Regions from separate parts of the Homo sapiens genome. Here regions 1, 3 and 4 are each linked to region 2. Evidence: promoter capture Hi-C in 16 types of primary human blood cells and fetal thymus (Javierre and others, 2016). All regions are on one chromosome and are shown on one strand. Each heading gives the region's core, a stretch centred on a gene start or on the middle of the fragment in contact. The rest is flanking DNA. Distances are from core to core; before and after follow the strand shown. Region 1 holds the start of AKT1 (AKT serine/threonine kinase 1). Region 2 holds the start of PACS2 (phosphofurin acidic cluster sorting protein 2). Region 3 overlaps AKT1 (AKT serine/threonine kinase 1). Region 4 overlaps SIVA1 (SIVA1 apoptosis inducing factor).

Region 1 (3,039 bases), core at 50-2,549, 520 kb after region 2:
AGACCACTGGGCCTCTGACTTGGCCCCCTGGAGGTGGGCCCTTCCTGGGGTTACAAAGTCTGAGCTGGGAGGGAGCAGAGGTGCTCAGGCGAGAGGCAGGAATGGGGAGTCCCCTGTCTGAGGAGCGAGTGCCCTCATGCAGGGGGAGAGAGTCCTTCTCTTGGTCAGCCCCAAGAGGCAGGGATGAAGCCCGAGTTTTGGCTGCAGACTCTGTCCTGAGCACTGGGCCGAACCTGCTGCCTCTGTCTGCATCTCCTCCCACCCCCTCCCCTGCTGCCAGCTGAACTCACTCTGGCTGAAAATAAAAATGCTCCCCCAACCCCAATACTTAGCAGCCTCAGGAAGGTAACTCACAAGAGTCTGTCTTTCACAAAAGGGTTATTATCAACTGTGGGCCTCTGGAATGGGGGAGGGGCAGTTGTCGGAGGAACTTCTGGCTAGGAAGGGGTCGGGGTGGCAGTCACCTGCACTCTCCTGTGAGTGTCCAGGAGAAAGGGGTCTGTGTCCCACTTACTCATTCCATACCCGGGCCATCTGCCTCCCAGTGGACTTCGGACTGGGTGTCCGGGCTGACCAAGTCCACCCAGCAGGGAGGGCTCTGGGCTGTCAGCTGTCACAGCCCACCCTAGACACCGCTCCTCCTCTGTCTGGTGTCTGCTCCCAGCTCAAGGTGGGAGCCAGGCAAGGTGTGCCCCTCTTCTCCCACTCCCCAGCAAAGTCCCCCTTTTGTGAGTGTAGCTGCCAGTACCTAGGTGAATGGTTGACTCCCCTCGGAGCCTTCCTGCTCCTTGGAGGCCCACCTCCAACTGACCTCCTGTCCTGGCATCCTCCCGCACTTCCCCCAGAGGCACAAGGTCTTGGGATTGGGCCTTTTAGGTCACTCTTGGCCGCCCCCTCCACGCCCCCCAGAGTGGGGCAGCCTGAAAGTCAACCTAAGCCACCCCCGCCCCGCGCGCGGAGGCAGAAGTCCGGGATTCGTCCCTGACCTGTCTCGGGCCCCTTCTGCTAGGGTCACGGCAGAGCGAGCCCAGAAGCGCCGGGTCACTTTACAGACGGGGAAACTGAGGCCAGAGAGGGCGTGGCCCCGGGACGGGCTGGCTGGTGGCCGGGCTCCGTTAGCGGCCCAGCCCAGGCCCCAGGTCGTCGGGAGCTGCCCCTCAGCCCGGCCGCGCGCTCCCCGAGCGCGCTCCGCCCTCGCCGCCGGCCGCGCGGTGGGGACGCCCCGGGCGGCGGAGGCGGATGTGGGCGGGCGGCTCCGGGCGCGGGGCGGGCGCGGGGCGGGGAGAGGGCGGGCCGGCGGCGGCGGCAGGACCGAGCGCGGCAGGCGGCTGGCCCAGCGCACGCAGCGCGGCCCGAAGACGGGAGCAGGCGGCCGAGCACCGAGCGCTGGGCACCGGGCACCGAGCGGCGGCGGCACGCGAGGCCCGGCCCCGAGCAGCGCCCCCGCCCGCCGCGGCCTCCAGCCCGGCCCCGCCCAGCGCCGGCCCGCGGGGATGCGGAGCGGCGGGCGCCGGAGGCCGCGGCCCGGCTAGGCCCGCGCTCGCGCCCGGACGCGGCGGCCCGGTGAGTCCCCGCCCGCCGTGGCCGCCCGGGCCTGGATTTCCTCCCCGCGGGCCGGGCCGCTTTGTTCGCGGCCGGTCGGGCCGGGGCGCGAGCCGCGGCGCCGCCAGAATGGAGGAGCGGGAGCAGGAAGTGGCCGAGCGGGCCTGGGCGGGGAGGGCGCGGGGCGCGCGGGCCCGGCCAAGGGAGGGCGGCCCCACGCCGGGCGCCGGGGGTGCAGGCTGCCGGCCCCAGCCTCCCTCATGACCTTGGGGAGGCCGCTCCGCCGGGCGAGGCCGGGACCCGAGAGAAGGGACGCCGCCGGGCCTGGAGCTGGGGCTCGGGGTGCCCCTGCGGGCCGTGGGGCTCCCCGGGCGCTGGGCCAGCGAGGCAGCCGGCGGAGGTGCCCCGGGGTTGGAGAAAGACTCGCCGCGGCCGGCCTTCAAGTTTGTGGGAGGGCCCCGGAAGGAGACTTCGTTTCCCACGGACGAAAAGTTGTACGTGGTGGCGGGGTACCCAGGCTAGCCACAAAGGACTGTGACCCTCCTGGGCCCCGGAACTGCTTCCTGTCTTGGGTGGGCCCTGGAGGTCCTGCCCGCCCATCCCAGAGGCCAAGGCTTGGAGGGCAGCTGGGGCTTGCCCCTTAGATTGAGTATCCTGGGGCGCTAGCGAGCTTGGTCCTGTCGGGACGGCCTCTGAGTGCTGCCTTGGTCAGCGGGTGAGCTTGGGCCCCTGCTCTGCAGCCAGAGGCCGCCCCACATTCACTCCTGGGTCTCTCGGCCTTGCTCCAGGTGGCCACTTCTTGACTGCTTTGAGTCCCTCATCCGAGCGAAGGGCGGACGGAGTCCGTTGGTGGGGGTCCGGTTGCCTCTCCCGGGAGCTGTGTAGACTTCTCATACACCAGGGTTCTGGAGGCAGATGGAGGAGCCCTTTCGAAAACAGAGTATTTTTTTTTAAGTTGTGACTTAATAATAGTAGCAAGAATATGTGCTTATGGTAAAGGCAGGCGGCAGGTACGGAGGCTGTGGGAAGTCGGGGTCCCTCCGCCCCCACAGGCAGCCCTGTGCTGGCCTGGTGTATACGTTTCTGTGCAGACGTACACCACCCTGTGTGAGCACAGATGTATTTTTACACATGGCTCTGGACAGCTGTCTGACTCTGTCAGCAGCAGGCCTTGGAGGGGCTCAGGCCCGTGTGGGGGTGGGGGGACATCCAGAGGTCTTTGAGTCCAGCCCTCTGCCTCCAGGCCACGCCCACTCAGTGTCGTCAGAGCCCCCTGTGCCTGAGGCGTGCGCGGCTCGGAGCCCTGCCCTCGGAGTCCTGCGGTGCCTTCCTCGAGTCTGGCCTGCTTTCCATCCTGCTAAGTACTTGGGGCATTTCCCTCTTTGGGTAAGGTGTGGTCTTCCCTGTCCTGGCATTAGACACAAGGCAGTGGGCCTTCCTGCCATTCTAAGTGTAGCTTAAGACAATCAGTGCAAAGCAACCCTTTGTGGGTGTCCA
Region 2 (2,712 bases), core at 88-2,587:
CAACACCACGCTCAGAGATGCAGGCTGTGGGAGCCACAGGAAAGCACGGAGAGGCCCACCTGCAGCTGACTAGGGGTGGAACAACTCAATGCCACGTGGGGTCCCCTCCAGGCATACTGGCCACTTCCAGTGCCTGGAAGGTCCGCTCACCCTCCCATCTCCCCAGGGAGAACTCTCACTACCCCCAACCGCCTCCTCTTCTCGCCTGCTGTCTATTCTAGAACCAGAACTTTTCCGGAGAGCGTGTCTCTCTCCTCCTTAGCCTGGGAGCTTCCTGAGCAGGAACTACCAAGTCACGAAGAAATTACAAAAGTTTCAAACTGAGCAGGAGACTCAGGGAAGCTGCAAGTCCAAGGAAGGCTGGGCTATGGCCGGAGGGTAAACCCTGTCCAATCGTTACCGCTGGGCGACCGGGCGCCCCCCTACCAAGTGCAGAACAGCCAGTCTTCCGCAATGGCAAGATCAACTGGGAGGCGCAAATAGCAGTACTGGCTTGGCGACGCCTCTAAATGAGAGACAGCGCCAACCAGGTACCCGCGAGGACGACCCCGCCCCGCAGGACAGGGCATCTCCACCGCGCGCTGGACGGAGGATACAACCGAGTCCTGCGCGCCCCGTGCGCCGGGGGTCGCTCCCAGGCCGAGGTCTGACAGTGTCGCCGAACGCGAAAGGAAGCGTGTGGTACCCGAGAGAGGAAGCACCCTCGTCACCCCGGCCGGCACCGCATTGAGGCAGGTGTGCAGGTGCGGTTGCGGCGAGCCAGGTGAGCGCCGCCCGGGAGCCCCAAGGTCCCGCCGGGTCTGAGCAGCACCGGGTCCTCGGAAGCTGAGCGCGGCCCCCGGTGCTCGGGACCTGGGGGGCTGGGGCCGCGCTTGCCGGAGCTGCGGGGGGGCGGCGGCTGCACGCGTCGAACCGGCGGGCGGGGGCGCGGGGGGCGACCTGGGCTCCGCTGGGGGACCCGGGCCGGGGATGGGGCGCGCAGAGGCCGCGGCCAGGACACCCCCAGCAGGTGCCCGGCGGGAACAAAGCGCGGCGGGCGGCGCGTACCTGGGCACGCAGCTGGGGCTGGAGCCGTCCACCTCCCAGGTGGCGAACAGGTTCATGGGCACGGGCGTGTTGAGCGCGCCGGGCGCGCCGGGGAGGCCGAGGCGGCCTCGCTCGGCCATGGCGCCGGCCCCGCCGCTCCCTCGGCGGCCTGGGGCTGCGGCCGGGCCGCGGACGCGCGGCGGGCGGGCCGGGCGCGCGGAGGGCGGCGGCGCGGTCACATGGCTGCCGGGCGGCGGAGGGGACGGGCCGGGCCCCGGCGTCGGACAGGCCCGCGGGCGGCGACGAGCTGCGGCCGCTCCGCCCCGCCCCGCCCGGCGCCCCGCCCGCGCCCCGCGCGCCCCCGGCCGCCCCGCGCGCGCCCGGCGCCCTCCGACCCGCGCCGGCGCCGCCGATTGGCTGGGCGGGGCGCCAGCTCGCCGCCTCGGGTCCAATCGCCGCCGGCGCAGCGCGCGCCGGAAGTGAGGTGCGCGCGCGCTTCCTCCGGCGGCGCCTCACGGGGCGTCCCCGCCCGCCGGTGCGCGAGAGCGCGCACTCACGCGCCTGCGCACAGACCCCGCCCGGGGCGCCCCGCCCCGCCCCCCGGGAGCCGCGGGCAAGGGCCGGGAGAGTCGTGGGGGTCCACCGGGTCCCGGCCAGCTTCAGGCGCCGCCCCCTAAGGAAAGCTCATCGTCGCCCTGGCGATGCCCACCTCCCCACGCGCGGATTCCCCGGCCTCGACACTTTCCCGCCTCCACCCCGCCATGCCCCGAGTCTCCCCGCCCCCCTGCCCTCGCCGCCCCTTGTCTCCTGCCGACCCCCGCTGGGTTGGCCCGGCTGTGCGGGCCCCGCCCGTCCCCGAGCCCCTCCCTCGCGCCCCCCTGCGTGGGTTCCCCGGGACGCAGGGAGGTGGCAAGGAGGTGGCCGGGCCTGGCGGCGGTCGCGGGGACTCGAAGCCACTCGGGGCGCCAGGCTGCCGAGCTTAGCCTCCAGGGCTCCAGATGACCCCGGGCGCCCTCTTTGCGTCCCAGCATCCTTATTCAGCGCCGCTTTTCAGCGTTGTGCTCAGGACAATGGAGAACAAATGTCTGGGGCCAAGGCTGGCTCCTGGCCCTGGGGTTAACAGTGAACTTGGGGACCCAAGCAAAGAGGAGGCAATGGCTAGAGCCGCTGGGGCCCGACGTGTAGGCTCTGGGGCTCAGGGAGGGTGCTTCCCCCATCTGTTTGGCAGCGGCTGTGGTCCAGCACCAGATGCCAAGCCGAGATTTAGGAAACGGTTTTCTGGCCTCTCTTCTGTTTCCTTGTTTCACAGTTAGTTTACAGTTGCTTTTCTCTTCGCCCTGTGTCTTGTCTACAAGTAGTTTTACTGAAACAAATCCAGCCCGAGCAAATTGACCTGGAGCTGGTTTCTTTCCTGGCCCACGGGGCTTGCCACCCCAGTGCCCCGTCAGCTCCTTCTGCAAAGGCCCTCATGCCGCTGCTTCCTCCGTTGAGAGAGCTCAGCCTCCAGCTGTAACTCCTGTATCTAGAACTGCAAACAGCTGCGACTGCTTAAAGTCAGGGTCCCACTTCGGAGAGAACAAGGGACTCTGTGTTTCCCACGCGCCCCTGGCTCCTCTAAGGTGGTACACTGAGAGCCATGAGGGTCTGTCTGACCTTGGCCAGCTGCTCGGCGGGCAGAGGGCCGGT
Region 3 (2,961 bases), core at 370-2,869, 540 kb after region 2:
GTGCCTCAGGTGTGCGTGTGCCCCAGGTGTGGCTTTGCCTCCAGTGTGTGTGTGCCCCAGATGTATGTGTGCCCCAGGTGTGGCTGTGCCCCAGGTGTGCCTGTGCCCCAGGTGTGGCTGTGCCCCAGGTGTGCCTGTGCCCCAGGTGTGGGTGTGCCCCAGGTGTGGGTGTGCTCCAGGTGGCTGTATTTCCCAGGTACTCAGGGTGAGGTTGGGAAAAAAGCAGGACATTTCTACACTAGGTGGGACAAGCAGGTTTCTGGGGTGCCCCCCTCATGCCAGCCCCTCTGTGGGATCTCCATACCCCTCATCCTCTGAGGCCTGGCGCACGGCGGGGCTCAGAGACTGAAGGAAGGACTGTAGGAGTGGACGATGGTGGGGGTTTGACCTGACGCCGGGCCAGATGCCCTGTGTGGCTGCCTCAGCCTGGAGTAGAGTGTCTGAGCTGGAACAGGGGTCCTAGCCCCACTCTGTGAGGCGAGAAACTGAGGCTTGGAGAGAGGAAGAGATGGGGCTTCCCAGGACCTGGTGGGTGGTATGCAAGGGGAGCTGGCTGGTGCAGCGGGGGCTGTGGTGAGGGCCCTGGGAGGGGCAGGGGGATGCACGCAGACAGAGGCTCTGCCTGCCCGCAGAGTGCCAGCTGATGAAGACGGAGCGGCCCCGGCCCAACACCTTCATCATCCGCTGCCTGCAGTGGACCACTGTCATCGAACGCACCTTCCATGTGGAGACTCCTGAGGAGCGGTACGTGGGCTGTGGCGGCCAGGCCAGGCACTTGGGCAGCCCCAGCGCTTAGGAGGGACACGGGGATGGCGGGGTGCTGGCACCTCTGCCTGTAGCCATCCTCACTCCCCAGTGCTCCCAGGCCCTCCTCAGAGCCCAGTTTGGAAACTGGCCCAGTCCTGCCTGTGGGGTTTGGGTGGGGAAACTGAGGCTGGAGATAAAAACTGGCTAGGGACCGGGTGCAGTGGCTCACGTCTATAATCTCGGCACTTTGGGAGGCCGAGGTGCGCAGATCACTTGAGACCAGGAGTTTGAGACTAGCCTGCCAACATGGTGAAACCCCCGTCTCTACTAAAAATATAAAACTTAGCTGGGTGTGGTGGTGCACACCTGTAATCCCGGCTACTTGGGAGGCTGAGGCACAAGAATCGCTTGAACCCGAGAGGCAGAGGCTGCAGGAGCCGAGATTTTACCACTGCACTCCAGCCAGGGCGATAGAGCAAGACTCCGTCTCAAAAAAAGAAAAACCCGGTGGAGAGGGCCAGTCCTCCTTGGGGGGCGGAGTCCTGCTTGGGAGGCGGAGTCCTGCTTGGGGGGGGCGGAGTCCTGCTGGGGGGCGGAGTCCTGCTGGGGGTTGGAGTCCGGTTGTGGGGACAGAGTCCTGCTGGGGGGCTAAGCCTGGGTGTCCCCCACGTCCAAGAGGGCTTCGTGACCCTGAGTGTATGTGGCCAGACCAGGTCAAGTGGTGGCCTCCTCAGGGCTGTCTCTGGGAACCCCGACAGCTGTGGAACCACGCTTGTGAGGCTGGCGGGTGGGTGAAAGACGTGGGGTGGAGCTCCTGATCTGGTACAGGCCTGCAGCCTCACCTGACCTCCTGCAGGGAGGAGTGGACAACCGCCATCCAGACTGTGGCTGACGGCCTCAAGAAGCAGGAGGAGGAGGAGATGGACTTCCGGTCGGGCTCACCCAGTGACAACTCAGGGGCTGAAGAGATGGAGGTGTCCCTGGCCAAGCCCAAGCACCGCGTGGTGAGGCCTGTCCCCACTTCTGCCTGTGCCTGGGGCTGCCTTGGACTGTGGAGGGCTGGGTGGGTCATGGGGTCCCAGCTCGGCCCAGGAGACACTCAGCACTCCACGGCATCTCCACCTAGGCCGGTTTTCCATGTAGGGCGCAGCTGCTTCCCAGGTGGGTCCTCTTCCCCATGTCAGAGGAAAACTGGGGTTGCTGAGCCCTGCCAGGCTTGGGCAATGTTACCCCACCCTTCCCTGAACCCCATGCTCTGAGCTGGGGCCGCAGCCATGTGTTCCCTGTAAGCCTGGACTCCCCGCTGAGCCCAGTAGGCCACCAGGTGTGAAGTGGACGCCTCTCCTGGCTCTGCCTCCGACTCTGGGGCCCCTCATGCCACCCCACGCATGCCGACCAGCTGGGCACTGTTGGCAGCGCCGCTTGCTGACCCTGGTGCCTGCCCATAGACCATGAACGAGTTTGAGTACCTGAAGCTGCTGGGCAAGGGCACTTTCGGCAAGGTGATCCTGGTGAAGGAGAAGGCCACAGGCCGCTACTACGCCATGAAGATCCTCAAGAAGGAAGTCATCGTGGCCAAGGTGGGGCCGGGGCGGTGGGGCAGGGTGGAGATGAGGGTGCGGGGTGGCAGCTCACCCAGCCCTGCTTTACAGGACGAGGTGGCCCACACACTCACCGAGAACCGCGTCCTGCAGAACTCCAGGCACCCCTTCCTCACAGTGAGTGGGAGCCCAGATGGGGCTGAAGGGCTGGGGCCAGGTAGCGACTCCTGGGGCTGTCTCTAGGGGACGATGTCCTGTCTTCTTGGGCACGTGAGGGCTTTACACACCGTGGACTCCGCCGCTGGTGAGACAGGCCTGCCCTGGAGGGTCAGGCTGTGGAGGTGCCCAGTGTGGGCTAGGGGCTGTGCTCGCTGCTCCCGTGTGCGGGCAGGTGGGTGGGGCAGGTGGCCCTGGTCTTCCTTGCACTCTGCCGAGGCTCCAGGAGGCCCCAGCTCCCCATGCCCTGCAGCCCTGCCTGCCAGGCTTTTGTTGAGGCCCGGGCTCTGTCCTGCAGAACCTGTTCTGGGGACTTGGCCCAGGAGGTATTTACTGTGAAGGGGGCCAGGGTCCAGCCACTTGGTTAGTTCCAGGTCACTGTGTTTGGGGACGATTCTCCTGCAGATGGGGCCTTTGCTTTAAAAGCACAGTCGCCTGTGGTGGAAGGCGGGAGGGT
Region 4 (2,983 bases), core at 434-2,933, 560 kb after region 2:
CATTTATTTGTGAAAGAGGGCAGAGCCCACCTCCTGTGCTGTAGCTGCGATAAAAGAGTGTGTCCACAGTGGGGACAGTGGCCCACTCAGCTCAACGTGAACTCTGTGGGTATGGGAGGAAGCAGCAGCAGAAAGTAGGTAGAGGCCAGGAGGAAATGGGCGCAAGGGAGTCCCTCAAGGATGGTGTGCAGGGCAGGAGTGGGAGGCCAGCCACGCAGCGCTCTGGGACCCACCTCTCCGCTGAACCTGCCCATGGCTATGTTCACTTCTGCTTTGGTGAGAGGGCCACCAGACAATGAGAAAACCCTGCCCTTTTCAGTTTACTTCTAGGAAAGAAGATGAACTCAGCGGGTGAAAAGCAAAGACAGAGTATCCCACATTCATAGCTAGCCCTGCAGATGATTCCCAACCTGGATGGGGTGCGTTACCCCACTCCTGCCCATGCTGAAGCCATGGGAGCCGATCACTGGCACGCGGCGCTTCTCCCTGGTGCTGCCCCCCCTGCCCAGGGCTCTCCGTCTCCAATGAGTCTGGGCCTCTGCCCCGACTGAAGAAAGGCTCGAGAGAAAGGACTCGAGATGTAACATGTGGTTTCTATTTTAGATGGACAATTTCAGACATTGTTTGGACTAAGCTTGCTTTGGGTCTATGGAGCCAGTTCCACATGTGTCTGGATGAAGTCATCTTTCTCACGGGGCAGGGCAAACAGGCTCCACACTGTCCACTCCCATCCACCAGGTGAGTAGCCCCTAGGGTGAGAACGCCCCTCCCCACCTTAGGAGTAAGGACGGGATCCAGCCAGCTGCAGCAAACCCACCCACAAATGGGAGACTACACAAACACTCCACTTCCTGCCTGAGAGGGTCTACAACCAAACGGCACGCATGACTGTGGTGAAGCTGCGGTGTGCACCTGTGTCACCAACCAGGGGCTCCTCGGACGGGGGGAGGGGGGGCTCAAAGACCAGAGGAGGAGGAGGTGGGGGTGCTCAAAGATCAGAACAGGAAGTGGCTGAAGACAGGGACTAGAGCCGGATACAGAGCAGGTCATCTGTGAGGTTCAGCTTTCCCTTAGAGAGGATTACTAACCACTAAAGTTGGGCCAAGCATCTATTGCCACCATGTCCCGTTAGGCAATGCCAGATGGCACTGCATCAGGGGCCACACGTGTGTGTTCTGGGCCCACATGGGTGACCCACCCGTCCCCCATCACGGCTTGCTGGGGCTATGGGATCTCAGCAGCTCCAGGGACTGAAGTACTTACTCCACGAGGCCACACAGGGTACAGGCCACGGAGCCGCAGCCCCAGCAGGTGCGCACACACTGCCCGCACAGGGCTCGCTCACACTGACCGCAGACCGCCTTCCCATCCACGGCTCGCACGCATGAGGAACAGGCAATGGACGCTACCCCAGATGGGTCTGTGAGGAAGAAACGCCAAGCCGTCAGGCTGCAAGGAGACTGGAGTTTCCGGGACTGCCGGGCTACCTGCCTCCATGCATACCTGAGGGCAGAGGGCTCTGACCTGCCTACCCCATCCCCACCTACACTGGATCCTTCTGACAACCCGTGAGCCTGGTACAGTGCACAGGACCCCCGTTTTACTACAGAGATCCAAGGTGAGATATGCCTGTAGTTGACTCCAAGTTCAGTGCTCTTTCCCTTACCAGGTCCCTCTGCTACCTGGAGGCTAGTGCTGGAAGGACCATTCTTCCCCTGTTGCTTGTCAGAACTCCATGTGTCCCATCTGGGTCTCAGTGTGGCCCACTGCCTTACTGGTTAACAAAGAGGTGCCTGGGCTCCTCCTAGACACACCAACCAGACTTGAGGTAGAGTCGGGGATTGCATTTCTAACCAGCAACACAGGTGATGCTCTGAGACCCCACACTGCATAGGGATGGGACTGGCATGTTTCCAGCCTTGTGGGACTATCTGAGGGGGCTGCAGGCGGAAAGCAGACGGGATACCCGGGGAGTCTCTGCTGCTTTTTTGGCCCAGTACTTAGAAGCTGTTTAACAACTTCCAGTCTTGAATGTGAGACCTCCTGATAACAGGAGCCTTCTGAGCCAGAAGGCCAAGCTCTGGGTCAGAGTCCTGCTTACCCAGGGAGGAAAAGCCTGACCTTGCAAATCAAGAAAAATGCTCGTGCCACCACCTGCCCTCAGTGCCACAGCCACAAAGGGCTGCTGGTGCCACTCACCAGCTTCGGAGGCCTGCCCAAGGCTCCTGATCAGGCGGCCGTCTGGTCCAATCAGCATCTGCCCACGTGCAGCCCTCGGGGCCCCTGTAGGGCCAGGCTTTGGGGACTCTGGCAGGTGAACGACGGCACAGCCTTCATCCCACACGTGGTCCAGGTAGGCCTGGGCCCCGAGGAACAGGAGTCGCTTGGTCTTCTCTGGGGGAAGATAAATCATTCTCACGTCCTTCACTGTGTACCAACGAAGCCCCTGCATGGCCATTGAGTCTTTCTAGCCTCACATGAACCCCATCGTCCTCCTGTGTGCCCTCTGTCTCCCAGTAACCCCAGCCTGTGTTGTGCCCTGGCGAGCTGGGTCCTGCTCTGCCTCTATGCTGAGAATGCTTGTGCGTCCTTTCCTTACCTGGCTTAGCTGTCATCTCCTCCAGGAAGGCTCTGGCCCTGCAGCCCCACCTGTGTCTGATGCAAGGGTTCCCTCTCCTATCACTCGGCTCATTTTCTGCAATTCACGGCTGGCCTCGCCTCACTAAGCTTGTCCCCTTTCTCCCTTTTCTGCTTCCCCAGCACTCCCCACCTGGAAACCAGGCTCTGTGGAATGCACAGAGGGAGCTCTGCACTGTGGAGCACTAATTCACAAAACTCGTCCCCTGCCAAGGAAGCAGCCAGAGGCTTGGAGCTGGGCCTACAGCCTCTGGCCAGAGCACACCCCCTTCACCTGCTACAGAGTTGCTGGCAAGACAAGCATCCCAGAACCTTCCAGACCTCTTGTTCTAGAACACCCACCCAT

What was found. The method cuts DNA at HindIII sites, captures the fragments that hold promoters and counts their contacts. A CHiCAGO score of 5 or more calls a contact.
Region 1: the fragment with the promoter of AKT1 here is called in contact with the fragment with the promoter of PACS2 in region 2 in 2 of 17 cell types (neutrophils and monocytes); the score reaches 6.5 in neutrophils.
Region 3: a contact is called between a fragment that was not itself captured here and the fragment with the promoter of PACS2 in region 2, in 1 of 17 cell types (monocytes). The highest score is 5.5, in monocytes.
Region 4: a contact is called between a fragment that was not itself captured here and the fragment with the promoter of PACS2 in region 2, in 4 of 17 cell types (neutrophils, fetal thymus, monocytes and 1 more). The highest score is 8.1, in neutrophils.

The regions. Positions count from the first base shown.
Region 1 is chr14:104,794,008-104,797,046 of GRCh38, reverse strand. It overlaps AKT1 (AKT serine/threonine kinase 1), which reads left to right and starts at 1,299. Exons shown (of 15, transcript NM_001382430.1): 1 at 1,299-1,563. RefSeq lists enhancers at 1-150, 2,192-2,833, 2,834-3,039 and silencers at 988-1,347, 1,528-1,577, 1,608-1,927. The HindIII fragment of the contact is 18,918 bases long and covers 1-3,039 here.
Region 2 is chr14:105,313,373-105,316,084 of GRCh38, reverse strand. It overlaps PACS2 (phosphofurin acidic cluster sorting protein 2), which reads right to left and starts at 1,337. Exons shown (of 25, transcript NM_001100913.3): 1 at 1,048-1,337. The coding sequence starts at 1,166. It also overlaps a transcript of BRF1 not described here. RefSeq lists silencers at 716-795, 1,026-1,115, 1,256-1,785, 1,886-1,975 and an enhancer at 320-971. The HindIII fragment of the contact is 4,816 bases long and covers 1-2,712 here.
Region 3 is chr14:104,774,442-104,777,402 of GRCh38, reverse strand. AKT1 (AKT serine/threonine kinase 1) reads left to right here. Exons shown (of 15, transcript NM_001382430.1): 5 at 633-744; 6 at 1,604-1,751; 7 at 2,196-2,327; 8 at 2,400-2,465. Among named protein-coding and RNA genes, the nearest start is that of AKT1, 20 kb to the left of the region's middle. The HindIII fragment of the contact is 5,609 bases long and covers 1-2,961 here.
Region 4 is chr14:104,755,041-104,758,023 of GRCh38, reverse strand. It overlaps SIVA1 (SIVA1 apoptosis inducing factor), which reads right to left. Exons shown (of 4, transcript NM_006427.4): 2 at 2,200-2,394; 3 at 1,264-1,420. It overlaps LOC107987209 (a long non-coding RNA gene), which reads left to right. Exons shown (of 3, transcript XR_001750915.3): 2 at 604-1,618. Among named protein-coding and RNA genes, the nearest start is that of SIVA1, 3.4 kb to the right of the region's middle. The HindIII fragment of the contact is 2,093 bases long and covers 637-2,729 here.